Regions from separate parts of the Homo sapiens genome. Here all the other regions are linked to region 2. The links are contacts of gene promoters, found by promoter capture Hi-C in blood cells and fetal thymus (Javierre and others, 2016). All regions are on one chromosome and are shown on one strand. Each heading gives the region's core, a stretch centred on a gene start or on the middle of the fragment in contact. The rest is flanking DNA. Distances are from core to core; before and after follow the strand shown. Region 1 overlaps MOSPD1 (motile sperm domain containing 1). Region 2 holds the start of HPRT1 (hypoxanthine phosphoribosyltransferase 1). Region 3 overlaps PABIR3 (PABIR family member 3). Region 4 has its middle 44 kb from the start of PABIR2.

Region 1 (6,940 bases), core at 1,665-4,164, 440 kb before region 2:
TTAAAAAGTTATACAGATGAATTTATCATTTTTTGTTTGTTTCTGTCTTCAGAAACAGTTTTTCATTTGTTTGTTTGTTTTTTTCCCAAGACAGATTCGTGCTCTGTTGCCCAGGCTGGAGTGCAGTGGCACAGTCTCGGCTCACTGCAACCTCCACCTCCTAGGTTCAAGCAATTCTCTGTTTCAGCCTCCCGAGTAGCTGGGATTACAGGCGCACGCCACTATGCCTGGCTAATGTCTGTATTTTTAGTAGAGACGGGTTTCACCATGTTGGCCAGGCTGGTCTCAAACTCCTGACCTCGTGATCTGCCTGCCTTGGCCTCCCAAAGTGTTGGGATTACAGGCGTGAGCCACCGAGCCTGGCCTTCAGGAACAGTTTCTTTTTCTTTCTTTCTTTTTTTTTTTTTTTTTTGAGATGGAGTCTCACTCTGTCACCCAGGGTGGAGTGCAGTGGTACGATCTTGGCTCACTGCAAGCTCCACCTGCCGGGTTCCAGTGATTTTCCTGCCTCAGCCTCCCAAGTAGCTGGGACTACAGGCACACGCCACCACGCCTGGCTAATTTTAGTATGTTTAATAGAGACGGCGTTTCACCATGTTGGTCAGGCTGGTCTCGAACTCCTGACCTCAGGTGATCCGCCCACCTCGGCCTCCCAAAGCACTAGGATTACAGGCGTGAGCCACTGTGCCCAGCCAGGGACAATTTCTAAGTGAAAAAAAAAACAATTTGGTTTCTGTTTTTACATCACTGTTAGAAAGCCTGAGGTTTTTTTGTTTGTTTTTCTCATTGTTTCTTCTAGAGTATTTATGGCTTTATTATTATTTTTTAATTTTACTTTTTAAAAAAAACTTTTATCTGTTTAGAATTTTCCCTGATTAAGGAGTGAAAGATAAATTATTTTTTTTCTAGATAGATACCTGATTTAGCCAGCATTTATTGATTAATCTATCCTCCACAAATCAGAGATACCACCTTTTATCCTAAATTAAATTCTCATCTCGACAGAGTTTTAGAATGAGATGGTGCATATAATTTTGTGATGCCAAATTTGGATGTTCTCTTCCTAATGCTTCCTAAGATAGTAATTATACAGCTTACCATTTTTTATTGAAAAAAAAAAAAAGAGAACACATCAAACTTCTGAGAGCACATTATCCCAATAGAAATGTGTATGCTTTTGAGTAGAAGAAATAAAAATGCAAAATTAGAATTATTTAATCGGAAGCCTTTTAGAATAATCTTAGTTTGGTTTTTTTTTGGTTTTTTTTTTTTTTGTATAAACCCAGGAACTTGGTAATCTTAGTTCTGTTTTATTTTATCTTCTTTTTTTGAGACAAAATCTCAGTTTGTTACCCAGGCTGGAGTGCAGTGGCGTGGTCATGGCTCACTGTAGCCTCAATGTCCCTGGACTCAGATGATCCTCCCACCTCAGCCCCCTGAGTAGCTGGGACTACAGGCATGTTCCACTACCCCCAGCTAATTTTTGTATTCTTTGTAGAGACAGGATTTTGCCATATTGCCCAGGATGATTTTGAACTCCTGGGCTCAATAAATCCTCCCACCTTGGATTCCCAAAGTGCTTGGATTACAGGCATGAGCCACCGCATCTAGCCTTAGTTTTATTTATTGAAGTGGACAGACAGTGGAAAAAATACTGGACTAGGAGGCAGGAGGCCTGTCAACTTTGGTTTTTTGTTTTATTTATTTATTTATTTATTTATTTATTTATTTATGAGACGGAATTTCGCTCTTGTTGCCCAGCGATCTCGGCTCACTGCAACCTCCGCCTCCCGGGTTCAAGCAATTCTCCTGCCTTAGCCTCCCGAGTAGCTGGGACTACAGGCGCCCACCACCACACGTGGCTAATTTTGTATTTTTAGTAGAGATGGGGTTTCTGCATGTTGGTCAGGCTGGTCTCGAACTCCTGACATCAGGTGATCTGTCCGCCTCGGCCTCCCAAAGTGCTGGGATTACAGGCGTGAGCCACCATGGCGCCAGGCTTCAACCTTGTTTTTGTTTTTGTCTCAGTCTGGTCTCTTCATAATTAAATAATAATAATAACAACAAACACTTAGAACATTGCCTGGCCTTTAGTAAGTGTTATTCAAGAGCTTTACATACAGTATATTAATTCATTCAGTCTATATAATTATTAAAAAGTTTATAATCTGTTATGAATTATACAAATATTAGATATCTTTACTAAGAAAATGTTGATAGGCGCTTTCAGCTCAGTCAAAAAAACAAAAACACATCCGACACTGTTGTTAATTACATTCATGCTATAAAGTATGGAAATAAAGTAGAATGATTATCTGAAGCAGCCTATGCATTAAGTGCCTTCCTTTTTACCTTCATGTTTCTGTGCCTTTGTTGTTCCCTTGGTCTGAATGCTCTCCCCTCAACACTTAAGTGTGTACCCTTCTTTTCTTCCAAGACCACCTCAAATATCAACTCCTGGCCTTTCTTTTTTTTGAGATAGAGTCTTGCTCTATCACCTAGGCTGGAGTGCAGTGGTGTGATCTTGGCTCACTGCAGCCTCTGCTCCCGGGTTCAAGTGGTTCTCCTGCCTCAGCCTCACAAGTAGCTGGGATTACAGGCACCCGCCACTATGCCTGGCTAATTTTTGTATTTTTAGTAGAGACGGGGGCTTCACCATGTTGGCCAGGCTAGTCTCAAACTCCTGACCTCAAGTGATCCGCCCGCTTCGGCCTCGCAAAGTGCTGGGATTACAGGTGTGAGCCACCGCGCCCGGCCAACTCCTGGCCTTTCTTACAGGTAGAATTATTCATGTAGTCTTCTGATTCTCTAGCACCATATATACCATGGTATCCTTATAAGTATCTATTATAATAGAGGTAGCTTCAATATTTTTGCTTGTCAATTAGACTTGAACTTCTTGAGGGTAGAGCCTATGCATTATTCATCTTTGTATCTCTGCTCAGCTTCTGACATAGTTCTTGGCATATAATAGATGTCCAGCTGAAAGAAAAGAATAAATATTTGCATACATGACTATATAGCTCCTATTTGATAGAAGTTGGAAAGGCCTCTATCAGAATCAGAGCATACGAGCCTCAATAGCTGGTAAAACCAAATCATTCATTCGTTTTATTTCTCTTTGAATGTATGAGAACCCGAACTTGAAACTGTTAAATGGCTTATAGTCTATTTTAAAGGTGTGATCCACAGGGTAAAAATCAGATATTTTCTCTGATTGTACATTTTAGCTTTTGCATTTTATTTTTAAAAGCTATGTTTCAATTGTGGGGGCACGCCTGCAGTCCCAGCTACTCCAGAGGCTGAGGCAGGAGGATTGCTTGAGGCCAGGAGTTCAAATCCAACCAGGGCAACATAGGGAGACCCTGTCTCTTAAAAAAAAAAAAAGGCACACTTGGTGTGCTTGGTAAATAAGAATATTGATTATAATGAGATTAGGAAATAAATACAGAAACATCACGCTTATCAGGCATTCAGACTTCTGTCAGTTATAGCTATCTGGAACATATTCAGGAACCCAGAGGGAATCCAAAAAAGCCTCTGAAGTTGGAGAATAGCTCTCACAAAGCATGTGTACTTGATGTAGGAGGGAGAGGCACAGTGCCACTCACATGCCAAAGCCCTACTTACTGACTTCACATTTTCATAAAAAAATTCCAAGGACTGCTTAGCATGTGTGGTCATTCGGCCTCCTTTCAAGACATTTTAGCTTGTTTCTGGTTTCAGTAGAAAAAAGATTAAAAGAACTCTCCCACCCATGCTGCCAAGAAGGCACTAAATAAAGTATTGTTGACATGAGTGTAAAAATGATTCTCATGGTTTTCTCCAGAAATCATGGAAACTTACTTTGTGTTTATTTTTTAGTCTTTAAGAATTCTGCTGGACTCATGCAAAATCAGTTGTGACGATACTTAATTTATTCTACTTTTTAAAAAATCTGAGGTTTAAAAAGAGCGATATCCCTTTGATCTCACCTCTTTGAAAGGGGGTCATTAATTTGAGAAAGACTTCTTTATTCCTTTGAGTATTTAGATTATTAATCATAGGTTAAAATCCTCAATGTGAAAGGAGCATGTATAAACTTCTTTGCATAATTTGGTAAAAGCTATACAAGTAAGTCAAGGGAAAAAGTCAAAAGCCATGTTTAAGTGATTTGGGGACTTTTTTTGAGTCGGAGTCTCCCTCTGTAGCCCAGGCTGGAGTGCAGCAGTGTGATCTCGGGTCACTGCATCCTTTACCTCCCAGGTTCAAGCGATTATCCTGCCTCGGCCTCCTGAGTAGCTGAGACTACAGGCATGTCACCACACCCAGCTAATTTTTGTATTTTTGATTTTGCATTTTTGTATTTTGTATTTTTAGTAGAGACAGCATTTCACCACATTAGCCAGGCTGGTCTGGAACTCCTGACCTCAAGTGATATGCCTGCCTCGACCTCCCAAAGTGCTGGGATTACAGGCATGAGCTACTGCACCTGGCCGATTCAGGGGCCTGTTTTAATGCATGCTAAATATACTTTTTGTGTAGGGGCTATAGATTAATGAAAATTGGGATCATTCACTTTTCTTCTCGCTTTCTCCTTCTATTTCTAGATTGCCAAAATGCTTTGGAGTTTTTAACTGAATCTAAGAAAAGTCCAAAATAGATTTGAGACTGTAAAAACAGAAACTGCAGCAAGGGGGATTCAGTGCCAATGCATCAACAAAAAAGACAACCAGAGTTAGTGGAAGGAAATCTTCCTGTTTTCGTGTTCCCCACGGAGCTCATATTTTATGCAGATGATCAGTCAACACATAAGCAAGTGTTGACACTGTACAATCCCTATGAGTTTGCCTTAAAGTTCAAAGGTGAGTCTCCTAGCTCTATTTTCTGGGTTTTTAACTGGTCCCTACTAATTTTTTACTTGTAGAAACTAATTAAAAAAAAAAAACACTAATGGCCATTGTGACTTTTTCTTTCAGTTTTGTGTACTACTCCAAATAAGTATGTTGTCGTTGATGCTGCAGGTGCAGTAAAGCCTCAGTGTTGTGTGGATATGTAAGTCAAGATCAATTCCTGGTAACACGTTTTAAGTGTGTTAATATTTATGTTTTTAACTTGAAAAAAAAAGATATTTTCTTGAAGCTGTTCTCACATAGGCATTTATTATATTTTGAATTTTTGCCGAAAGTTTGTCTATCGAAATTGTTTCTAAGAGATTCGGCCAAATACTTAATAATATTTTATTACGTTGGAGCTCATGTATATGTTAGTATCTCCATGAACATTTTCTCATTGTTGTGGTTTTAGTCATACCAGGGATGCTTATAAAGGTAAAGTTCTGACTTATTCCTTTAAATTTCTCCAGCTATAATAGGGGATTTAGCTTTCCTTGGAACATACTGCTATTATAGTGACATTTGGAAAAATGTAATACTACAGTCTAAGAACAAGGGTAATATAAGTTCATCTGAAGTGATTCAACTAAAAGCCTGGAAGTTAATCTATATAAACAGGAAGCAGTTGTGCAACCACTCATCTGTAAAATATTATTTGAGCTCTTCCAGATAATTTCATCTTAGAGTGTCAGATAAATGATTGTTCAAGCTGTTCATATTTAATTTTTATTTTAGAACTAGTGGTGACCAGATGGATCCATTGACCAGCCCTTAATTTAAGCTACCAAGTACACTGTATTTGTTTAAATCTTCTGTGAGAATGAGAAGCAGAATTCTTTTCTTTTGAATACTTTTTCACCAGCTCAAAGCCATAAAATGATGTATCTTTGAGAACGTTTTTGCACATTTTTAAAAATTTTCATTCAGTACACAGTAAGCAAGAGCTATTACAAAGAAATGTAGTCTCTTGCCAAATAAATGTGTTACTTTGACCTAATTGTTTTGTGTTCCCTAGTACGAACAAAATAAAATAAATGGAATTGCAGAAAACCCATAAGAATTACAGTGTTTGGCTGGGTGCAGTGGCTCACGCCTGTAATCCCAGCACTTTGGGAGGCTGAGGTGGGAGGATCACCTGAGGTCAGGAGTTCAAGACCAGCCTGGCCAACATGGTGAAACCCCGTCTCTACTAAAAATAAAAATTAAAAAAAAAAATAGCTGGGCGTGGTGACAGGTGCCTGTAATCCCAGCTACTTGGGAGGCTGAGGCAGGAGAATCACTTGAACCCAGGAGGCAGAGGTTGCAGTGAGCCGAGACCACACCATTGCGCTCCAGCCTGGGCAACAAAAGTGAAACTCCGTCTCAAAAAATAAAATAAAATTACAGTGCTGTATACTCTTTTCTCTTTAGAGAAGTAGAGGTGTATTATTGGCCTTCTGTTGCACTGGTAATAGTGGATTACTTACTTATTTGATTGCTTGTTTCTACCTGCATACATGGAATTCAATTTTAAGTGTAGGGCGAGGTTTGTTGCCTAAACAATAAGTAAGTAGCAATAGAAATTTATGAGATGTTTGTGGGGAATAAACAATTGCATGTATTCCTATTTAGTAAATGTTGCTGCACTGAGTTATCCAGAAAAAAAAAAAATGTGATTGCTAAAGAGAATTTTTTTTCTTTCTTTTTTTTTTTTTTTTTTTTTTAATAAGACAGAGTCTTGCTCTCTTGCTATGGCAGCGATCATAGCTTAGTGCAGCCTCAACCTCTTGGGCTTAAGGGATCTTCCTACCTCAGCCTCCCAAGTAGCTAGGACTACACGCACACCAGCAAGCCAGTTAATTTTTAATTTTTTTTGTAGAGACGGGGTCTCTGTGTTGCATAGGCTGGTCTCAAACTCCAGGCCCCAACCTCCCAAAGTGCTGGGATTACAGGTGTGAGCCACTGCGCCTGACCAAAAAGGAATTTTCTTTACCTGTTATTTTTTTGCTTAAGACTTTTATTCTGTGTTTTAGATTATGTGCTTTCATCCAATGTTTCCGAATTACTCATTTCTTTTGGGTTATACT
Region 2 (7,591 bases), core at 2,016-4,515:
AAAGGTGCTCCGTTTTACCAATTCTGTAAAAAATTATTGGCAGGGTAAGCTCGGCTAGGGCAGGATTACATTTCTAGGACTACCATCCCCGAAATTTAGAAGATATTATATCCACATAAAGCATATCTTTCACATTAATTTGCAAAAATCTAAAAGCTTTTTCTTAGCTCAAGTGTGTCCAAGTTTACCCTGGCAGTTTAAAACGATAGTTACAAGCAGCATGGGTTGTATCAGACACATTTGAGGGCCAATTTCATGTAAGTGATATTGGGCAAGTTACTTCAACTATCTGTGCCTCCAAGGTCATACTAGTGTTTATTTACCTAAAGGGTACCTGTTATGTAACTTTAGGGTGTTTACATTAGATAATGCCTGCAAAATATTTACTTCAACGCCTAAAACATAGTTAAGTATTCAATAAATACCTACTATTGTCACTACTAACTTAAAAGTTTAGAGATTAAGAGCAGAATCTGGGGTGAGACAAACTTAGGTTCAAATCCTAGTATTGTTGGGTAATCTTGGGCAAGTTACTTAACCTCTCTGATTTGTGTAATTTAAAAAATTAGTTAATATACATAACAGGGCTTAGAAGAGTATCTAGCACATAGCACCATTTAAGCATTTGTTATTGCTAACATGCAAACAATTTAAGGGAAAGAAATTTTTTAAAAAGGAAGAGGGATTTGCAAACTAAAAACAATGAGTATCTTATGTTCAAAGAAAACTAACAAACAGCCAGCTCTAGCAATAATTAAATTCACTATATACTGGGGCAGGCATCACACCCCAAAGCTAAAAGCGTCTACCTAGGCCAGGCACGGTGGCTCATGCCTGTAATCCCAGCACTTTGGGAAGCAGAGGCGGGCAGATCGCTTGAGCTCAGGAGTTCAAGACCAGCCTGGACAACATGGCAAAACACCATCTCTACAAAAAATACAAATATTAGGCCGGGCGCAGTGGCTCACGCCTGTAATCCCAGCACTTTGGGAGGCCAAGGCGGGTGGATCACCTGAGATCAGGAGTTCGAGAGTAGCCTGGCCAACATGGTGAAACCTCGTCTCTATTAAAAATACAAAAAATTAGCCAGGCATGGTGGCAGGCGCCTGTAATCCCAGCTACTCAGGGGGATGAGGTAGGAGAATCGCTTGAACCCGGGAGGCAGAGGTTGCACTGAGCCGAGATCATGCCACTGTACTCCAGCCCGGGCAACAAGAGCGAAACTCCATCTCAAAAAATAAATAAATAAATAAATAAAATAAAGTACAAATATTAGCCAGGGATGGTGGTGCGCACCTGTAGTCCCAGCTACTTGGGAGGCTGAAGTGGGAGAATCCCCTGAGCCTGGGGAGAATCACCCGAGCCCGGGAAGTCGAGGCTGCAGTGAGCAGTGATTGTGCCACTGCACTCCATCCTAGGTGACAGAGTGAGACCCTGTCTCAAAAAAAAGAAATTGGCAGAATTAAGTAAGTTGATGTTTAGAGATGAAAAATCAACATTTTTTCCTCAGCAACTGAATAAAAACAACAGCCACTACCATTTTTTTGAGTACCTATTTGTAGCCTATTTTTTAACTGGTATTACTCGAGAGAGAGAGAGCTAGGTTCGAGACAGAGCTCCTTCTCTTAATAACTGTATGACCTAGGGTATGTCTGTTAGCCTCTCTGAGGCTTCAAAGGTTCCTCATCTGTAAAATGGTAATAATCATACCATTGCTACAGGGCTGTTTTGAAGACTAATTAGGACTATGTAAGTAAACATGATGATGGCTATTATTACTGTTCCCCGCCAGGGGCCATGCAAGGGTTGCTGATTCACATAGACTGTCTTATAATCCTCTCAATAACTCCAAGAGGTAGCCAGCACCTCAGATATACATAAAATGACTTAAGCCCAGAGAGGTGAAGTAAGTTGCCCACAGCCACACAACTAGTAAATAGCCCAAACAAGCTGGATTCCCAGTTAGACTCCGTTAATAGCACTGCTCTTTACCTTAAGTCATTACAATGCCTAATATGAAATAGAATCGCTTCTTTCTTAGGGTTCAAGTGGTTAATTATTTAATGTATTCATTCAACAAACCATCATCGAGGACCTCTTACAAGCCAAGTACTGTGCTAAGTGCTAGAGTTACGGCGGTGATTCCTGCCCTTAAAAAGTTTTAGTGGGAGAAACAACAGGTAACCAGGTCATTGCCAAAACAACAAAAATAATCATAATAAAGCAGGCTAAAGCATATTTAACTGGCCGGGGTTTTGACTATTTTAGCAAGCATGATCAGAACGGTTGAGGAGGGAGGCCAGCAGCTTGGCCGGTTCAACAAACAAGAAAAAACCAGTGAGGGTGGAGCTAAGATACCAGAGGCTGATTACGGTTAAGAATGTTCTTGAAGGTAAGGACCAGATTCTCATTTTCTATATCCTGGGGCATCGGTCAGCATGGAATCTGGATTCTAGCACATGTGAATTTCGGCTTGAAATGACCTAATGCCTTTTCCCTAGTTCCTTCGTGTGTCAAATACGCATGGTTACCGCTACCAGAGCTGTAGTGGGGCTTCAATGAGGCCATGAGCATCTCCATAAAGATGAACTACAGTGTGTGCAAAACTAAAGGCAAAACCTGGTCCCCACACGCCCTCCCAGGTGGTCGCTTTCCGTGCCGAGGCCCCTCCAGAGGTGCCCCGAGAACCTCACCATCGCACCCCAAACTTCCAGGGAAGGGCCTCTCCCGAGAAAGCCCCCACGCCCCCACCCCGCGCCATCATTCCCGAATCTGCCCTCGGCCCCTCCCCGCAGCACGCTCGCAGGCGGCACATGTCAACCAAAACGCCATTTCCACCTTCTCTTCCCACACGCAGTCCTCTTTTCCCAGGGCTCCCCCGAGGAGGGACCCACCCCAAACCCCGCCATTCCGTCCTCCCTGCCGCCCTCGCGTGACGTAAAGCCGAACCCGGGAAACTGGCCGCCCCCGCCTGCGGGGTTCCCTGGGCCCGGCCGCCCGAGCCCGCACTGCGGATCCCGCGCCTCAGGGCCCGGCCGCCACCTGCCGCGTGGGCCTGAACCGGCCAGGGCCGGCAGGCCGAGCTGCTCACCACGACGCCAGGGCTGCGGGTCGCCATAACGGAGCCGGCCGGCGCGCGGGCTGACTGCTCAGGAGGAGGAAGCCGGTGGCGGAGCAGAGGAGGAGGCGGAGGCGCAGCAAGAGGCGGCGCCGCGCGGGAAAGCCGAGAGGTTCGCCTGAGGGCTCGTCGCAGCCGCCTGAAGCTGAGGAGAAGCAGGCCCCGCCCTCTGCCCGCCCCGCCACGCCCCGCAGGCCCCGCCCCCGGCCCCGCCCGCGCGCCTACGCCGGCGCCTACCAGTTTGCAGGCTCACTAGGTAGCCGTGGGAATTTTCTCCCAGAAGAAGCCGAGGCTCCCCCAGCGAAGCCCCTTTCCCTCCCAACTCAGTCTCCTATTCAGAGGGCTCCCTGATTCCCAAACCTACCGGCGCGCGTTGCTTCATGGCGGCCGTAAACCGGGCCCCGGCTCTTCGGGTTCCAGTCATCGCGTGAATCCTTGGACCAGACGTCCCATTCCCAAGACCTTGCACTACCTGTGGCTTCCATTTTCCTGACTCTTGGCCCAGTGCTTCCCCAAACCCTTAACTGGTTGTAACAGTTGAGACCTAGAGTCCTAGAGTCACCCAGATCAGGGTACACATCTGAGAGGACACTTAACTGCTCTGTAGTTTTGTACAAATCAGACTCTGAGCCTCTATTTTTGCCTCACTAAAATGAGCATATTAGCCCGGCGCGGTGGCTCATGCCTGTAATCCCAGCACTTTGGGAGGCCGAGGCAGGTGGATCACTCAAGGTCAGGAGTACGAGACCAGCCTGGCCAACATGGCGAAACCCCATCTCTACTAAAAATACAAAAATTAGCTGGGCGTGGAGGCGGGCGCCTGTAATCCCAGCTAGTCCGGAGGCTGAGGCAGGAGAATCACTTGAACCCGGGAGGCGGAGGTCGCACTGAGCTGAGATCGCACCACTGCACTTCAGCCTCCGCGACAGAATGAGACTCCGTCTCAAAAATAAATAAAAATAAAAATAAATAAAAATTTAAAAATAAAATGAGCATATTAACAATACATAAACAGGATCATTTTGAGTATTAGAGGAGTATAGGTATGCGTGTGTGTATGTATATATATATGCACTTAGGACAGTACAGTCAGCAAATGGGAACTACTGTTATTACTACTGATCTTTATTTTTGCCCACACAAGTTCTTATATTGAATCTGAAAACAAAAATATGTTCCCCTGCTAATTAATTCTCAGATAGGTCAGGTAAGCAAGCAACAGTTGCTCCAGCAACACCATTTCTTATATACTCAACCCTATAGCTCCAGCATCCACCACAGTGCCCAGCACATAGTTGGTGGCCTCCCTCTTATTAAGGACGCTGAGGGGTATGTGATGGCAGGAGATTTGTAAAACTAGGCAAGTCATTGAGCTTCTCTGGACCTCAGTCTCTTCATCTAAAAAATGAGAATAATAAACCTGGGTAACATGGTGAGACTCAGTCTCTACAAAAATGAAAAATTATCTGGGCCTGGTGGCCATGTGCCTGTAGCCCCAGCTACTTGGGAGGCTGAGGTGGGAGGATGGCTTGAGCCCAGGAGGTCCAGGCTGCAGTGAGCCAAGACTGTGCCACTGCACTCCAGCCTGGGCAACAGAGAAATATCCTGTCTCAAGAAAAAAGAAAAAGAGAGAGAGAGAGAATAATAACTACTGCCATGAAGAGTTTTACGAGAATTCTAAAAATCATTTATGTAAAGTACCTCATATAGTATTTGCCACATAATAGGTGCTCAAGAAACAGTAGCTGTTATAATTTTAGCATGTATGAATTTGTGAAGTCCATACTTCCCTACTTTCCCTGTCTTCCCTCTTTATCCTGGAGAGGCAGCAGGCTGTAATGGAAAAGGGATGTATGGGCTTTGGACTGAGTTCAAATCCTGGGTTCCCCACTATTATAGCATTTTGACTTTGGGCAAGATCCTTGGTCCCTGCGTGCTTGGTTTCTTATACGTCAAATGAGGTTAATATCTCTGTCACAGAGTGTGGTGAAGATTAAACAAAATAATATATGCAAAAGTGCCTAGCATAGAGCTTGGCTCAATACATGATGATACCAATGTTACGTGTTCCATAATAATTTTGCCTTAAACAGTTCACTTTCTTCTAGCCTCTAAGACTTTTTTTTTTTTTTTTGAGACAGAGTCTCGCTCTGCTGCTCTGCTGGAGTGCAGTTGAATGATCTCAGCTCACTGCAACCTCTGCCTCCCGGGTTCAAGCAATTCTCCTGCCTCAGCTTCCCGAGTAGCTGGGACTACAGGCGTGTGACACCAGACCTGGCTAATGTTTGTATTTTTAGTAGAAAATGGGGTTTCACCATGTTGGCCAGGCTGGTCTTGAACTCCTGACCCCAGGTGATCCGCCCATTTTGGCTTCCCAAAGTGGTGAGATTACAGATGTGAGCCACCACGCCCAGCCTGCCTCTAAGACTTCTTATCCATTCCCCTGTTGATGGACATTTGGGCAGTTTCCAGGTTTGGGCTATTAGAAATAATGCTACTATGAACATTTTGTACATATCTTTTGGTGAATATATGAATGCATTTCTATTTGGCATAGAACTTGAAATTCATATTAGAACATTTTCATTACTTATCCTTTTAACAAACATTGTGTTCTATCAGGAAGTTAATTCAGAGAACTTCCGGTTATATATTCGTCCCCTGACACATGTGGTCTCAGCTACTCAAATTTGTTTCTAAATTAGGTACCCAACAATTCAGAATCCTTCCAGCTTGCCTCTGGCTTGCAGTTCCTTTCTCCAAATCCTGCAGTACCAGATACTCCTGTATTTTAATAGTGGATTTGAAACAAATAATGATAGCCAGATGATTGTAAAAACAAAGAAACAGTACTGTTCTTTCAATCTTGTCATTCTGTGTGACAATTTGGACTTTTTATTTGTATTTAAAATGGAAAACAGCAAACACTGCAATCTGCAAGATGTAAGACTTTTTCTTGGTAAGTGAAAATCTGGTTCACATATGAAATGGTTTACTGAATTTCCACATTATATTTAAAGTGGAAATGTATTCTTCTAAAATATTGTTTTCCCACTACAGACAAAAGCAAGAAAATAATTATTCCTAATTATTATATGATTATTATTGAAAATGATTTTGTCATAGAGGTGAAAAATGTTAAAAAATTATCTACTCTGGACGTCCTATATGCTAGGTATGTCACTGTTCTTTACTGGAATATCTGCATGCAGGAAGAAATAAGGAAAGCATGAGTGTAACCTAAGATTCCTCTTCCCGATGCCTTTCCAGAAACAATTTTTTTTTTTTTGAGATGGAGTCTTGCTCTGTCACCCAGGCTGGAGTCCAGCGGTGTGATCTCAGCTCACTGCAACCTCTGCCTTCCAGGTTCAAGCAATTCTCCTTTCTCAGCCTCCCGAATAGCTGGGACTACAGTTGCACGCCACCACACCCGGCTAATTTTTGTATCTTTAATAGAGACAGGGTTTCACCATATTGATCAGGCTGGTCTCGAACTCCTGACCTCAGGTGATCCGCCTGCCTCGGCCTCCCAAAGTGGTGGGATTACAGGCATGAACCACTGCACCCAGCCAGAAACAATTTTGTAATCGACTTGTTTGAACACAATTATGAATTATTTGTGCGCCACAACCAAGTCCAACTGTATTTCTTCTCTAGAAATTTCTTTATTAAGAAGTCTGTTTTTAACCATGGTGCTGTGCTCCGCCAAAATTTGTATTTCTATGAAAAACAATCATCACAAAAATATTTATACTAAATGTTTACTTTTTCAATGAGTTGATAATGGTTTTCTCAATAATGCCAGATGTTTCACTTTCATCAGAATAACTTTCCATAAGCTTTACTTTTTTTTTTTTTTTTTTTTTGATACGGAGTCTCGCTCTGTCACCCAGGCTGGAGTGCAGTGGCGCGATCTCGGCTCACTGCAAGCTCTGCCTCCCGGGTTCACGCCATTCTCCTACCTCAGCCTCCCGAGTAGCTGGGACTACAGGCACCTGCCACCACGCCTGGCTAATTTTTTTTGTATTTTTTAGTAGAGACGGGGTTTCACCGTGTTAGCCAGAATGGTCTCGATCTCCTGACCTTAGGTGATCTGCCCGCCTCGGCCTCCCAAAATGCTGGGATTACAGACATGAGCCACCGTGCCCGGCCTCCATAAACTTTACTTTTATTCCATAAATGGGGTGTAAAATTGAACCATAATTGGAATTAACTAACATGATGGTTAATTTCTTTCTTTTTCTTTTTTTTTGAGACAAAGTCTTGCCCTGTGACCCAGGCTGGAGTGCAATGGCGCGATCTGGGCTCACTGCAACCTCCACCTCCCGGGTTCAAGCAATTCTCCTGCCTTAGCCTCCTGAGTAGCTGGAATTACAGGTGTGTGCCACCACGTCGGGCTAATTTTTGTATTTTTAGTAGAGATGGGGTTTCACCATGTTGGCCAGGCCGGTCTGAAACTCCTGACCTCGTGAT
Region 3 (7,017 bases), core at 2,513-5,012, 360 kb before region 2:
AACTAGGCTATCTGTCCCCTGTTACCCAGCAGTTTCCAGTCTTTTCCTATTTGAACTTTCATTTATTTATTTTTAATATATTTTATTTTTTAGAGCACTCTTCAGTTCACAGCGAAATTGAACAGAAATTATAAAGAGTTCCCACATACCCCCCTCCGGCTCTCACACAAGTGCAGCCTCTCCCACTACCAACATCCCTCACCAGAATGGTGCATTTTTTACAACCAATGAACCTGCATTGGCACATCATTACCACCCAAAGTTCATAGTTTACATTTAGGTTCACTCCTGGTGTTGGACATGCTAAGGGTTTTGTATGACATGCATCCATCATTATAGTATGGTACAGAATAGTTTCACTGTCCTAAAATTCCCCTATGCTCTGCCTGTTTGTCCTGATCTTTTATTTTTTTTCTTTTTTCTTTTTTTGAGAAGGAATCTCAGTCTGTCACCCAGGCTAAAGTGCAGTGGCCAGTGGCCCAATTTTGGCTCAATGCAACCTCCACCTCCTGGGTTAAAGCATTTCTCCTGCCTCAGCCTCCCGAGTAGCTGGGATTACAGGCGTGCGCCACCACGCCCGGCTAATTTTTATATTTTTAGTAGAGACAGGGTTTCTCCATGTTGGCCAGACTGGTCTCGAACTCCTGGCTTCAAGTGATCCACCCGCCTTGGCCTCCCAAAGTGCTGGGATTACAGGCATGAGCCACCGGGCCTGGCCCTGATCTTTTTGTTTTTAACAGAAATAGGCTCACATTTTTTCTCATTATAAAGCATATATACTCAATATATATAATTTAATACATTCTGAGTCTTTCCATGTTAAAATTCATCTGCAACACCATTTTAAGTGCTGAATATTATACTGTAAGGACGTACCATAATAATAAGCAGCACTTTTATTATGTGCCACACGTTTTATCTCACTCAATTCTCACAGCAACCCCATGAGGTAGGCATTATTATCACCTTCATTTTGCCTCAGAAAAACTGAGGGCTACAGTGATTAAGCAACTTGTCCAAGGGGTTATGCAGTCATTGCTAGAACTGGAATTCAAATACACGTAACGAAGGCTCTTTCGATTGACCTATTCCCTATTGTTAGACATTCAGGCTGTTGCCATATTTTTTGCTAGCTCTTATAAATAATGTTGTAATAATATCTTTTAAGCTAATGTTTGTGCACATCCTTAATTAATTCTTTAGGATCAATTCATAGAGCTGGAGTTTCTGGGTTGCAAGGTTGTTGATACATATCACCAAGCTGCCCTCCAGAAAACTTATACAAATTTACTTCCCAGTAGTGTATTAGAATACCTATTTCCTCATACCCTCTCAACATTAGATACTGTGACTTTTTTTTCTTTTTTACTTTGAACCCCAAATATTGCTAATTTAAAAAATATTTACGTGCCCATTCTTAAGGCATACTATAAAAATAATCAAACTTTCAAAGCAAGCAGAAAACATTGTGATTTATACAGTGTTGGAGATTCTTCCTCAGTGTTTCCCTTTAATAACACTAATTGAGAAGTTGTGCAGTGGCATGAACAGAATCTGAAAAATTTAGGTTTTCCTGAAAAACTCTCATATACACATGGATATATATGTGTACATGTATACATTTTGCATGTATATGCATATATATGTATACGTGTATGTATATATGTATATATGTACATAGAATACACGTATACAAATATACATATATATACACATATATACAGATACACACACACACCTTTGAAGAGGCAGAATTTTAATACGTTTAATTCATGCTACTAAGGTTCACATCTGCATCAATCAAATGCCCAGAAAATTCACAATATATAACATGAAACACTATGGTTTATAAAGTTTATAATCTAATGAAAAAGATATATAACCTGAACTTAAATGTATACATATACTTTCTATAGAAATTATGACACTTTGGCTGTATTATAATGACATGTCATAAATAAGACAATTACTTTCTATTTTTTAATTTTTTATTTATTTAACTTTTATTTTAGGTTTGGGGGTACATGTGAAGGTTTGTTACATAGGTAAACATGTGTCACCAGGATTTGTTATACATATTTTTTCTTTTTTTTTTTGAGACGGAGTCTCGCTCTGTCACCCAGGCTGGAGTGCAGTGGTGCAATCTCAGCTCAGTGCAACCTCCATCTCCCAGGTTCAAGCAATTCTCCTGTCTCAGCCTCCTGAGTAGTTGGGACTACAGGCACGTACCATCATGCCCAGCTAATTTTTTTGTATTTTTAGTAGAGATGGGGTTTCACCATGTTGACCAGGCTGATCTCAAACTCCTGACCTCAGGTGATCTGCCCACCTTGGCCTTCCAAAGTGCTGGGATTACAGGTGTGAGCCACCGCGCCTGGCCTGTTGTACATACTATTTCATCACCCAGGTAGTAAGCCCAGTACCTAATAGTTATCTTTTCTGCTTCCCTCCTCACATCCTCCCCGCTCAAGTAGACCCTAGTGTCTGTTGTTTCCTTGTGTTCATAAGTTCTTATCATTTAGCTCCGACTTATAAGTGAGAAAACATGGTATGGCAAATTTCCTTCATAAAATAATGATGAAAGACTTCCCTAGAAGAGATTATTTTTAATTTATACCTAAGGGATGGGAAGGAACCAATTTAGGTTCAGGCAAAGGCTTAGGATTTCCCACTGAAAAACTTCATCCAGGAAATCATGAGAAGATAGACTGAAATTGATGACACCAGCAGGGAGATAGTGTGAAATGTCTGAGGTAGGTAGGATTTGAACTTGAGCTACAGAATCATAAGCTACAAGAATTTTTTAATTGGACAAAATGTGGATCAAATCTTGTATTGGCTGATTCTTTTAGTAATAATGTGAGAAATTAATTGCAGAAAACAAGGCTTCTGGAAGAGAATTCTCCCCAAATTAAGTACTACAAGTGGCGTTTGCAAAGGAATTACCTTAGATAATTTTTCCACATGAAACAAAGTATTAAAATAGAAATAATGACTTCACTGAGATGTAATAAACATCACTGGTATCTTTTGTGTAAATTTCCCACTGTGCCTTTTTCTCACACTCCAGGAAGAAAGAAAAGTCCTTGGAAGGAACCAAGAGTATCAGCACCAAGGAATGATGTCATGGTGTGAAGGTGGCTGGGAGTAGAAGTAGCGGGAGGTTAGGGAGGGTGCTGGGTGAAGCTAATTACTAAGAATTATCTCCAGTGAAAGGATTAAGATAGGAGGAAAAACCAAGCTTAGTTCCATTTAAGAGAGATCACAGAAAATTCATATTGTAAAGACATTAAGATTTTTAAAAATTATTTTTCATTTTCCTAGGTTTGCTGTTTTTAAGCCATTTCCTACTATAGTAACTAGAGATAAAATGCTCAGAAAATCCTAAACAAAGGGTTGTACACTGTGTTTATAAATGTCTCTGCCTAGTTTCAGAAATGATTTAAGATGGTTTATAATGCTACTTAACATGAACTGAACATGGGCTAGATGTGCAGGGCATAAAGCAGGATCAGGAATGTATTACATGCTTGCAACTTTGTGGGCCATACACTAGATTTGGGGTTTGTGGTTGCCAATAGGAAAAGCAAAACCTAATGAGACAGATGTCAGTAGGCCTAAAATTAGAACAGATGAATTGCTCAAGAAAAGCACAACCTTTTCTCTTAGGAAGATGAGACATTTCCCCTGCTTCCTTTGGAAGAGGAGGGGGTGGGGATGGAGAAGTGACGCAGTGACATCCGGCTTGAGCAGAAGTGCCAGAATTCCTGGTGGGAGAGAAAGGAACAGGCATGGCAACTTCAGAGTTCTTAGGAGATAAAGCAAAGGGGCGATTTGGGAGAAGGCATAGTCTCAAGGTCAGAAGAGGTCTTTGGGCTTCTGTTCAACAGAAGTGGGTGAAGTAATTTCCTGAGAGAAGTGAAGAAAATATTTGCACTTAATTAAACAAAATAATTGTGAGGGAACAGTTTTTTTTTTTTTTTTTTTTTTTACAATGCTTGGAAAATACGCATCTTTATTTTTGTGTTCATTCAACACAAAAACCCATGGCTCTTCAATGCCCTCTGTCACAGTGATTTGTTTCTAAAACACGGTTTTACCTATATACGTATGTATACACACACACACCCATATATATATATATATACACACACACACACATATAATATAAAATATATATATATACATATATATGTGTATATATATATTTTTTTCATATGGAGTCTGTCTCTGTCGCCCAGGCTGGAGTGCAGTGGCGGGATCTCAGCTCACTGCAAGCTTCACTCCCCGGGTTCAAGAGATTCTCCTGCCTCAGCCTCCCAAGTAACTGGGATTACAGGCGCGTGCCACCAGACCTGGCTAATTTTTCGTATTTTTAGTAGAGACGGGGTTTCACTATGTTGACCAGGCTAATCTCAAACTCCTGAACTCAAGTAATCCGCCTGCCTCGGCCTCTGAAAGTGCTGGGATTACAGGCGTGAGCTACTGTGCCCAGCCTGTTTTACCCATATTTAAATACATGAAAAGCAGCACCAATTTTTAAAATTGTGGTAAAATACACTAACGTGAAACTTACCATCTTAACCATTTTGAAGTATACAGTTCAGCAGTGTTAGGTACATTCCCACTGTTGTGCAGCCAATCTCCAAAACTCTTTTCATCGTGCAAAACTGAAACCCTTTAAAATTGTACCCTTGCAAAACTGTACCCTTTAAACAACAACTCCCCATTCCCTCCTCCTCCCAGCCCCTAGCAACCACCATTCTACCTTCTGTGTCTATGAATTTGGCTACTTTAGATGCCTGTGGCACCAATTTTAAGGATAGACCAGTATAGGACATAACCATTAAACTTATAGTTTATGATATCATTCAATAATATTTGTATTTTTTCAAGAATAATGTTTCTATTTTGTAATATAATATCTACTAGAAATGAAAACACCTGTATTGCTCATGCTTTGTGAAAAACATCCAACTAGTATAGAAATGCATAAAGTAAAAATAAAATTCTGCCTATAATGTCATGCTCCAGAGATATCTACTAAAGATAGGTTGATAGATATCCTTCTCGACATCTTTAAATATATATAAGAGCTTGCTATCCATTGATTTTGAACCCTGGGTCTAATTACTAGTTACATAATTAACTGTGGCTGCTGAAGATGGTAGGGTGGAAAGATAGAAGGAACCTGGGTCTCTGATGATGTCATTGGCCCACTGAACTAACCCGGCCTAGAACCTCCTTTTCTTGGGGCTTCTTATTATTTGAGATAATAATGCTCCTTATTGCTCCTTATTGTTTAAGTCTCTCTGTTTTTTGTTTGTTTGTTTGCTTTTGTTTTTGTTTTTGAGACAGAGTCTTACTCTGTCACCCAGGTTGGAGTGCAGTGGCGTGATCTCGGCTCACTGCAAACTTCACTTCCCGGGTTCAAGCGATTTTCCTGTCTCAGCCTCCTGAGTAGCTGGGATTACAGGCGCATGCCACCATGCCCGGCTAATTTTTGTATTTTTAGGAGAGACATGGTTTCACCATGTTGGCCAGGTTGGTCTTGAACTCCCGACCTCAGGTGATCCGCCCACCTTGGCCTCCCAAAGTGCTGGGATTACAGGCCTGAGTCACCTCGCCCAGGCTGTTTAAGTCTCTTCTAATTGGATTTTACTGCTTTTGCCAAAAGCATTCTAATTCATCATGTCATTCTCCTAGAAAATTCAGCAGTTCTATACTAAAGGTAAGTATATACTTACTTATGTCTTATAATAATAATGAAGTGATACTTAGACACAATAAAAGCATATGCATAGTATTGCTATAGCAAGCTAAACCAACAAGCCTTGAAATCCCCATCATCCAATAAGTTAAAATGACTTCAATTCTGCCAAACACAATCTGTTATATAAGATGGTTTATTTTAAATATACATTATATTAAACTGAACGTTATGCAAATTAGGAGCCTAGAATTCCTAAGGAATGTTATGCATTTTTAAAATGCCAAGAATCGCCGGGCACAGTGGCTTATGCCTGTAATCCCAGTACTTTGGGAGGCCGAGGCAGGCGGATCACGAGGTCAGGAGTTTGAGACCAGCCTGGCCAATATGGTGAAACCCCATCTCTACTAAAAATACGAACATTAGCCAGGTGTGGTGGCGCGTGCCTGTAGTCCCAGCTACTCAGGAGGCTGAGGCAGAAGAATCGCTTGAACCCAGGAGGCGAAGGTTGCAGTGAGCCGAGATCACGTCACTGCACTCCAGCCTGGGCAAGAGATCTGTCTCAAATAAAAAAAAAAAAAAAAAAAAAAAGAAAGAAAAAATATCCTTTAAGTATTTGGTACTAGAAAAAAAGATTTTAAAATTATAATTTTTAAAAAGCCAGGTGCACCGGTTGCTGACTATATGTACTATTACTGATTTAAAAAAACCCACATATTTATTGAGCATTTAGTATGTGCCAGTGCTGTGCTGAGTGCTTCATACTGACCAAGGTAATCCACAACAAACCTACAAAGCAGTTACTTTTACATTCCCATTTTACAGATGAGGGATTTGCCTCCCAAATAACTGAGCCTGGATGTACAGTGCCATTTATAGGTCCTTGGCTCTCAGTTATTCTTCAAAATCAAATCTGGCTTAATCTCACCCCACTCCTCCTTCTACTGAAAGTGCTTTCAAATATAAGAATTCATGAGTAATATCTGTTTTGGTAATTCAAAGGACACTTTTCAGTCTGTTTGACGGCTTGACAGCATATGACTTACTACTTTTCCTTGTTTTTTCATGGTACTACTCTCTTCTGAAGCCTCCTCCTGCCTCTCTACTTAGTCCATCACTCTTCTTCTGACTGATTTTTAAGTGTTGGTGATTTTTAAAGTTTTGTCCTGCAACTTCTTCTCTGCTCTTTCTATACTCTCTTTGTAGGTCATATCATTAATTCCCACAGTTTTAAATAACAATCTACCAATGATTCCCAAATGGTTATCTCTAGTCCAGCTCTCACTCCTGAGCTTCAAACTAGTACA
Region 4 (7,960 bases), core at 2,003-4,502, 290 kb before region 2:
ATTAATCTGTATAACCTGTTACCATTATTGGACTCGTGCCTGAATAGACAGATCAACAAAACAAAGCAGAAAGTCCAGAAATAGACCCAAGTATATATGAAAATGTAATCTTTTTTTTTTTTTTGAGACGGAGTCTTGCTCTTTCCCCCAGGCTGGAGTGCAGTGGCGTAATCTCGGCTCAATGCAACCTCCGCCTCCCGGGTTCACGCCATTCTCCTGCCTCAGCCTCCTGAGTAGCTGGGACTACAGGCACCCGCCACCACGCCTGGCCAATTTTTTGTATTTTTAGTAGAGACGGGGTTTCACTGTGTTAGCCAGGATGGTCTCGATACCCTGACCTCGTGATCCGCCTGTCTCGGCCTCCCAAAGTGCTGGGATTACAGGCGTGAGCCACCGCGCCCGGCCGAAAATGTAATATTTAATAAACAGTTTATTACTGGGGCAAAGATGGACTTTTTAAATAAATTCTATTGGCACAACTGGATAGCCATTTGGACAAAAAGGTAATTTGGTCCCATACTTCACATTGTACCCTAGAATAAGCTCCAAATGGAGCTTATTATATAAAATATTTAAAAAATAAAAAATAAAACCATATAGGTACCAGGTGGTCCAAATATTAAAAAAAAAAACATATAGGCACTAGAAGAAAACGTCGATTAATTTCTTTATAATCTGGGTGTGGGGAAAGCCTTTTAAAATATGACTCCAAATCCAAATGCCATAAAATGATGAGTATTTTCAAGTACATAAAAATCAAAGTAAAAACCTTTTTTTGCATGGCAAAAATCAGATAGGCAAAGTCAAAAGAAAGATGATGAAGGCCGGGCGTGGTGGCTCATGCCTGTAATCCCAACACTTTGGGAGGCCAAGGCGGGCGGATCTCGAGGACAGGAGATAGAGACCATCCTGGCTAACACGGTGAAACCCCGTCTCTACTAAAAATACAAAAAATTAGCCGGGCGTGGTGGTGGGCACCTGTAGTCCCAGCTACTTGGGAGGCTGAGATAGAAGAATCACTTGAACCCGGGAGCCAGAGGTTGCAGTGAGCCAAGAGCACTCCAGCCTGGTGACAGAGCAAGAATCCATCTCAAAAAAAAAAAAAAAAAAAAAAAAGAAAGAAAAGGAAAAAGAAAAGAAAGATGATGAAACTGAGAAAATACTTATAATGTATACATAAATAAAGGTCCAATATCCCAAACATATAAAGAACTTTTTAAATCTAAAGAAAAAAGGCTAAAAAGTCTCAGGAGGAAAATGGGCAAAAACATGAATACACAGTTCACAGAAGAAAGTATACAAATGATCCTTAAATATATGAAAAGATACTCAACTTCACACATAGTAAGAGATGCAAATATATTTAAAATACACAGTCAACTTGACCATCTGGATCATTTGGAGAGGAGGAGCAATGCCAGGTTAGGTTAAGTTCTCCCATTTAGGCACTCCTTGATATCCCTGGGCTTCACCTTTTATGGCACTTATCTGACTTGTAATTACAGTGATTGTTTAATGTCTGTCTTCCATACTAGTTACCAAATGTATAAGAATAGTGACCAAGACTATCTTATTCACACTGGTATCCCCAGCTCCACGCACAAAGTAAATGCTCAATTAACATTTGTCAAATCAATGAACAAACAAACTACAGAGTACTTATACTCACCAATAAGAGCTACCACTTAATAGTTGGATGAATGAATGAGTAACGTGGAGGCAAGGAATTGAATCTAAATCTATGTTTTCTGTAGTTCTCTCTCCCCGCTTCTCTTTCAGTTCTTGCCCACTTTCCATGGCAAACTCTCTCTCCTATTTTTTCTCCCTAATTTCCATCTAATTTCCACATGCTAGCTAAAGTAAAACCTTCAGCATGGCCTATGCTCATAAAATGTGTGCCTAGATCAAAAATAAGAAAAGTTGCAAATTTACATGATAAATTGGATGTTAGCATCTGAAGTGCTTTAAAATGGCCTGCTTTCTTATGTTTCTATAATTATTTTCTTATGCACCAAAATAAGAAAACTGAAAAATAATTTATTGTTAAAGTCATTCCAACATTTATCTTATTGCTAAAACTGCTTCCTACCGTTTCATTGCAAACCTACAGTATTTTAGCTTTACTTTTGTGAATCAAATTGGAACTCTAACCAGCGTAATCTTGTCTCTTCAAGAAAATGCATTGTAGGCACCAAAAAAAAAAAAAAAAAAAAAGAACAATAAATGTTCGAAATGTAGCACATTTGTAAATTGGAAGACAGCTTGTTTATGAGTGCCTGTTGATTAAATTTGTTAATGAGCCCTTAAGAAATTGCCCCTTTTTCTCCTACCACTAGAAATCCTTGATGGATTTTTCTATTACATCTAATTTTCAACACATAGAATAAAGCCTTCCATCTATGTTGACTTTTACCTCAGAAGTTGAGCGAGTTACTTGATTTTTACAAGCCCAGAAAAATAGGCTTCCCCCTAGACAGTCATTGTAAAAGGAGTCTCTTGGTAGCAGATTCCATTTTTTTCTAATACTATAATTATAGATCGATCCAATAAATGTTACTTTAAAATTTTGCTCAGTGGAAAGGCACTATAGAAAAATCTCATGTATTAGCCTAAAGCAGCTTGAATCTACTCCCTATCTTGTGAATGTTTAGGAGTTTTGATAGCCTATATAAATAAGTGTGCTGCATAGCAGCAGTTATTACAATAAAACAATATTCTGCTGGATTTTGTTGAAGCTTTGATTAATGTGAATATAAATTGATAGGGACAACAGAAAGTTTGAGGTTAAAATTTAGGTAGCAACCTTGCCATAACGTATTGTAAAAGTACCATATGCTCATTGGATAATATATGAAAAGTAATGAAAAATAGAAAAAAGTTTAAAGTGAAAATAAAAATCACCATAATTACGCCAGGCAGAGACAGCTGTGTGTTTGTGGGGTTTTCTATGTGATGGAACTCAGATGCTATATGCAATATTTTAGTCTATGGAAGCACTTAAACATTGATAGTATTTTTTAAAGAAATATTTTGTGTCATCCGGGGTATTTAAGTTTTATGGTTTAGCACACTACTCTGGAGAATGGTTTGAGACTCCCGAGTCGAGAAATCAATTCACAGAAGTCCTGTTTCAATTACCTGCAGATGTCAGTGTGGATCTGAGTGTGATTCAACACTTTGTTCCAGGATGTGGTGGGACAGTTGAAGTCCAGTTGTGAACCAGTTGCTTATTAAACAAATAACAGTTTAGTTTGGATGAGAAATGTGAGCTGTAAGGACCTCAAGTCTCCGAAATTTCTTTTTATAAAATCTAAATAAGCATGGATATATTCTCCAGTTACATCCAGTTCACAGAAGATTATACCATCTCGTTCCCGCCCCTGATTGTTTAAACAGCCTAAGATTAGTTATAGTGCTGGAGAAGTAGAGTTGATGTCGTTGGGCTTATTAAATTTGACTCCAGCCCAGATGGCAGGTCTGAGCGATACATTAGGAGCTGTGTTGGTTTACTTTTTGCTGTTATCGTATATTTAAACTCAAAGTTTAAAACTGATGATTCCAGCTCTAAAAGGGCATCATCTTTGCCATTGCTTCTGATGCTTATCTGCTTTTCTACATGATCCCGCTCTTTCATGCAACTTCGTGACATGAAAAGTCAATGTCGATTAGGCTAGGAAAATGTCAGGGAGACTTGCAGTGGCTCATTTTACCAAAACACAATTGTTTCTCGGGCCACGACACAAATCTGCCATCTGTTTCATAAGCTTGCAGGCTTCCTCTGAAGTATAATTTGCTATATATATTGGTACAGAAATTGTTGGTAGCTTATGTTTACCTAGCAACATAATCTGTTTGGTAGAAGGCTGTGGGAAAGGAGGCTTTGTGGAGGAGGATTTTCTTTTTCTTTCTTTTTTTAAAGAGAGCAGTTTCTTCATCTACAAATTATCTTTAAGTGCAAGAAAGGCGGATGTGCTGGCCCAAACAATCTGCCTTTTATACCATTTTAACCTAAATTGCCTAGTAAATGCTCACTTTGGGAGTTATTTTTGCTATGTCAATTATCTCATATATACATGAATGCCCTCTTTTCAATTTATTTTTCTTTTCATACAAATCACTGTGAAATAACTGCCTTGACCTTCTAGCTGTAAAAGATCACCGAGCTTTGGGACTGCCTGCATCTGTCCAGTGTGTATTTCTCCTGTTTCCCAGTGCTCTTAGTGTGACTTGTGGGTTTTGAATGTTGAATTTACATTTCAAGGATGTTTGTCAGGGCCTGGTAGTCTTTAAGTTAAATGTAACAAAATCAAGCAGCCTGCACTGTGTTGTCTGCATTACATTAATTTTCATTTAATTGAATGAGCTGTATATTTCTACCTACCCACTTTCTTAGCTTTCTTATCAGCAGAGCAATGTGTCTGTTGAAAGAAAAAAAAAGCCAAGGGGAGAAAAAAAAGTTTTGACTTTCCTTCATGTTAGTTATAGACATCATATGCTGGTAAAGGTTAGAGTGTACTTTCTACATTCATTTTGAGAAGGGGAAGAAAGTGTTGTCCTGTCAACTTCCTTCATGTAACACCAAGGTATAATTTGCTGCAGGCTTATTGCATGATATTGCCCTTCTGAAAGTGACGGGTTTTTCATTTTAATCTATAGCTATTATGTAGTTCTCAATGAAGAGGCAATGTGGAGGTTACTAACCCACTTCCCTCTCTAAAAAAAAACAAACAAAGAAGAAATGAAAAGAAAAACGAACTTCTATATCATCCTGAGACTTTGAAACTAGTCCTGAGAAAAGACTGTAGCAGAATTGTTATATGGACAAAGTTCCTTTAGCCAGAGCCATCCCATGTCTTTCATCTTGCAGCCTTTGTTTCTGCCCCCTTGAGTCCCTAACTCTTCACAAGCCCAGAAATCTCCTCACAATGTAGCCTCACAGGAAAGCACTGATAACTTCTACAGAGTTGGCCCTGACAGTTTTGCAAGGGACATAGGAATTAACTGGGTTGGAAAGCAGGTTTCCTTGCATCACTGGGAGCAGCCATTAATAATACAAACATTTATTCTTGGTGTTCTCCAGTAATGCTAGTCATGGAAGTGAGAAATTGACAGCTTGAGTTGTGAAACTGAGACCCATTTTTATACAGAGCAGATAGTTAAAGGCAAGTGAGAGAAGATGAGCTAATGAGAGAAGGGTTGACAAAAGAAGAGCAGAGGACCGGGCTTTTGCAACAGAAGGGAGATGTAGGATGAAAGATCCTGGAGGAGTGAATGATCAAGGAGGGAAGCTTATTGTCTTATTTAACCAACACTTCTTCAGCATTGGTAGTGTGCCAGAGACAAGAGATGGGAGGAACAGGATAGAGAGGAGACATTTTTAGGAGGGTGATGAATGAAAACAAAATGGTAGAAGATGCCCCAAAAGTCTTTAGTGGCTTTATTTCTGTCGAGAAGGTCGGAAGTCAGATTGCAGAGGAGCAAGAAAGGAATGCAGCATTCATTCTAAAAGTTTGGCAGCATTCTAGAGACTGGTAGCTGGAAGGGTAGGAGGGTCACTTGTAGAGCAGTTGTTGATGTTGTTGTTGTTGTTGATGGTGATGCAGTTGTCTGCATGAGATTGAAGAGCCAATGGGATAGGAAATAAATCAGAGGTCCCTGGTGAGCAGTGCTGTCCACTAGAACTTTCCACGATGATGGGAATTACATACATTTGCACCGTCCCATTCAGGAGCCGCCAGCACCACGTGGCTGTTGAGTACTTGAAATGTGGCTAGCACAATCAAGAAACTTCATTTTTAGCTTTATTTCATTATAATTCATTTACATTTTTCTTTTCCTTTTTTTTTTTTTTTGACAGAGCCTTGCTGTGTTGCCCAGGCTGCAGTGCGGTGGCATGATCTTGGCTCACTGTAACCTCTGCCTCCTGGGTTCAAGCGATTCTCCTGCCTCAACCTCCTGAGTAGCTGGGACTACAGGTGGCGCCCCCACACCAGGCTATATATATATATAAATATATATATATATATTTATAAATATATATATATAAAAATATATATATATAAATATATATATAAATATATATATATATATTTATAAATATATATATATAAAAATATATATATATAAATATATATATAAATATATATATATATATATATATTTTTTTTTTTGTATTTTTATTAGAGACAGGGTTTCACCATGTTAACCAGGCTGGTCTTGAACTGCTGACCTCAGGTGATCCACCTGCCTCGGCCTCCCAAAGTGCTGGGATTACAGGCTTGAGCCACTGCGTCCGGTCATAATTCATTTACATTTAAATAGCTACACGTGGCAAGAGGTTACTATCTAGGACAGCAGAGGTCTATAAGGAGAAAATAAATGTGGGAGTAAGAAAATGGGAAGAGATGAATTCTAGAGCAGAGTAGGAGGCAGTAACTTAGTATTTAGGAAAAATCTTCATCTGATGAGAGATGCTCTCACATCTCCAATAGCTAGGGGAGTTCAGACCCATAGCGTAAATGTTTTCAGCAACCGAATTGTCAAGCTCATCTACTAAAAATGGGAGAGTTGAGAGGAAGAAGATTTGGGGACCCGAGGAGAAAGATTGGGATATTCACAGCATACGGTATATCAGGAACAACTGGGCAGTGATGGGAACCAAACTGTGGTTGACAGCATGAGTTTGTGGTGGGCCAAGTCTAAGAGGCTCAACATGGGCCAAATTTGTACTGAGCCAAATGCGTGCAATTCCATATAAGGTTCTTTCTGGAATAAGAAACAAACTAAAAGGATCTGGAAAAAGGATATTATGCAATTTAGGCTTAGAAAGTTATGTTTGAGTATATCCCAGCAGCTCTGTTACTCTCTCTTAAACATCTTCTGATAAATTCCATTGGTTTTTTTTTCTGATGAATTTAAGCCTTGATAGTATAAAATGTATTTAGAGGAATCTCACTAGGCAGGTTAGGGCCCTTCTGCCTGGGTGGTGTTTGGTTAGGGTTATCTGCAAGATTCCATTGCTTGTTCTCCAAGCAAAAGAGCTTTCGGGTAGCTCACCCACGCCTCTCTGGTGATAGGAGTGGAGATGGTGGGGGCTTCCTTATAGCTAGAAAAATTATAGCACTGTGTAAGCCCATTGCTATTTAACTAACACTCTTTCCAGATGTTCTTGGAATGGAGGCCAGGGGCAAGATATGCTTATTGCAATACAGCTTCTATTTGTGGGAAAGGAGAAAAATTAAAGGAATGAGCAGATAGAAATGGAAACTGATCAGCTAGTATTTTTCTATATGTTAATAACACGAAAAGAATTAATTATGAACTGAACAGAGTTTTCTTTAAAATCCAGGTATTAGGCAGCAATTTAAAATCTTGATTTTTTGATAGAAATATCTCAACAAGCTCAAATTTTTGACTTCAGAAACAAGTGCACTCTTTGGCTACCTCGTCAGTCCTGTGGATATTTCTGTGTAGGCATTTGGTTCTTGTTTTCTTCTGTCACCCAGGTTGGAGTACGGTGGCCTGAACATGTCTCACTGCAGCCTCAACCTCCCAGGTTCAAGGGATCCTCCCACTTTAGCCTCCCGAGTAGCTGGGACTACAGGCAAACGTCACCGTGCCTGTTTGTTGTTGTTGTTTGTTTGTTTTGTTTTGTTTTGAGTCAGAGTCTCACACTGTTGCCCAGGCTGGAGTGCAGTGGCACGATCTTGGCTCACTGCAACCTCTATCTTCCATGCTCAACAATCCTCATGCTTCAGCCTCCCAAGTAGCTAGGACTACAGGCAGGCACCACCAAGCCCGCCTAATTGTTGTATTTTTTGTAGAGACAGGGTTTCATCATGTTGCCTAGGCTGGTCTCGAACTCCTGGGCTCAAGTGAGCCTCCTGCCTTGGCCTCCCAAAGCACTGGGATTACAGGTGTGAGCCACCATGCCCAGCCTGATTCTTGTTTTCATTGCAGC

The links. The method cuts DNA at HindIII sites, captures the fragments that hold promoters and counts their contacts. A CHiCAGO score of 5 or more calls a contact.
Region 1: a contact is called between a fragment that was not itself captured here and the fragment with the promoter of HPRT1 in region 2, in 1 of 17 cell types (non-activated CD4 T cells). The highest score is 5.8, in non-activated CD4 T cells.
Region 3: a fragment that was not itself captured here is called in contact with the fragment with the promoter of HPRT1 in region 2 in 2 of 17 cell types (M2 macrophages and fetal thymus); the score reaches 5.8 in M2 macrophages.
Region 4: a fragment that was not itself captured here is called in contact with the fragment with the promoter of HPRT1 in region 2 in 1 of 17 cell types (endothelial precursors); the score reaches 5.8 in endothelial precursors.

The regions. Positions count from the first base shown.
Region 1 is chrX:134,897,184-134,904,123 of GRCh38, reverse strand. It overlaps MOSPD1 (motile sperm domain containing 1), which reads left to right. Exons shown (of 6, transcript NM_019556.3): 2 at 4,590-4,844; 3 at 4,959-5,034. The coding sequence starts at 4,691. Among named protein-coding and RNA genes, the nearest start is that of MOSPD1, 15 kb to the left of the region's middle. The HindIII fragment of the contact is 9,641 bases long and covers 1-6,940 here.
Region 2 is chrX:134,455,839-134,463,429 of GRCh38, reverse strand. It overlaps HPRT1 (hypoxanthine phosphoribosyltransferase 1), which reads right to left and starts at 3,265. Exons shown (of 9, transcript NM_000194.3): 1 at 3,092-3,265. The coding sequence starts at 3,118. RefSeq lists silencers at 2,994-3,173, 3,274-3,393. The HindIII fragment of the contact is 6,801 bases long and covers 159-6,959 here.
Region 3 is chrX:134,818,219-134,825,235 of GRCh38, reverse strand. All of the region lies in intron 3 of PABIR3 (PABIR family member 3), which reads right to left. Among named protein-coding and RNA genes, the nearest start is that of PABIR3, 14 kb to the right of the region's middle. The HindIII fragment of the contact is 1,037 bases long and covers 3,244-4,280 here.
Region 4 is chrX:134,749,013-134,756,972 of GRCh38, reverse strand. It overlaps a transcript of PLAC1 not described here. Among named protein-coding and RNA genes, the nearest start is that of PABIR2, 44 kb to the left of the region's middle. The HindIII fragment of the contact is 1,029 bases long and covers 2,738-3,766 here.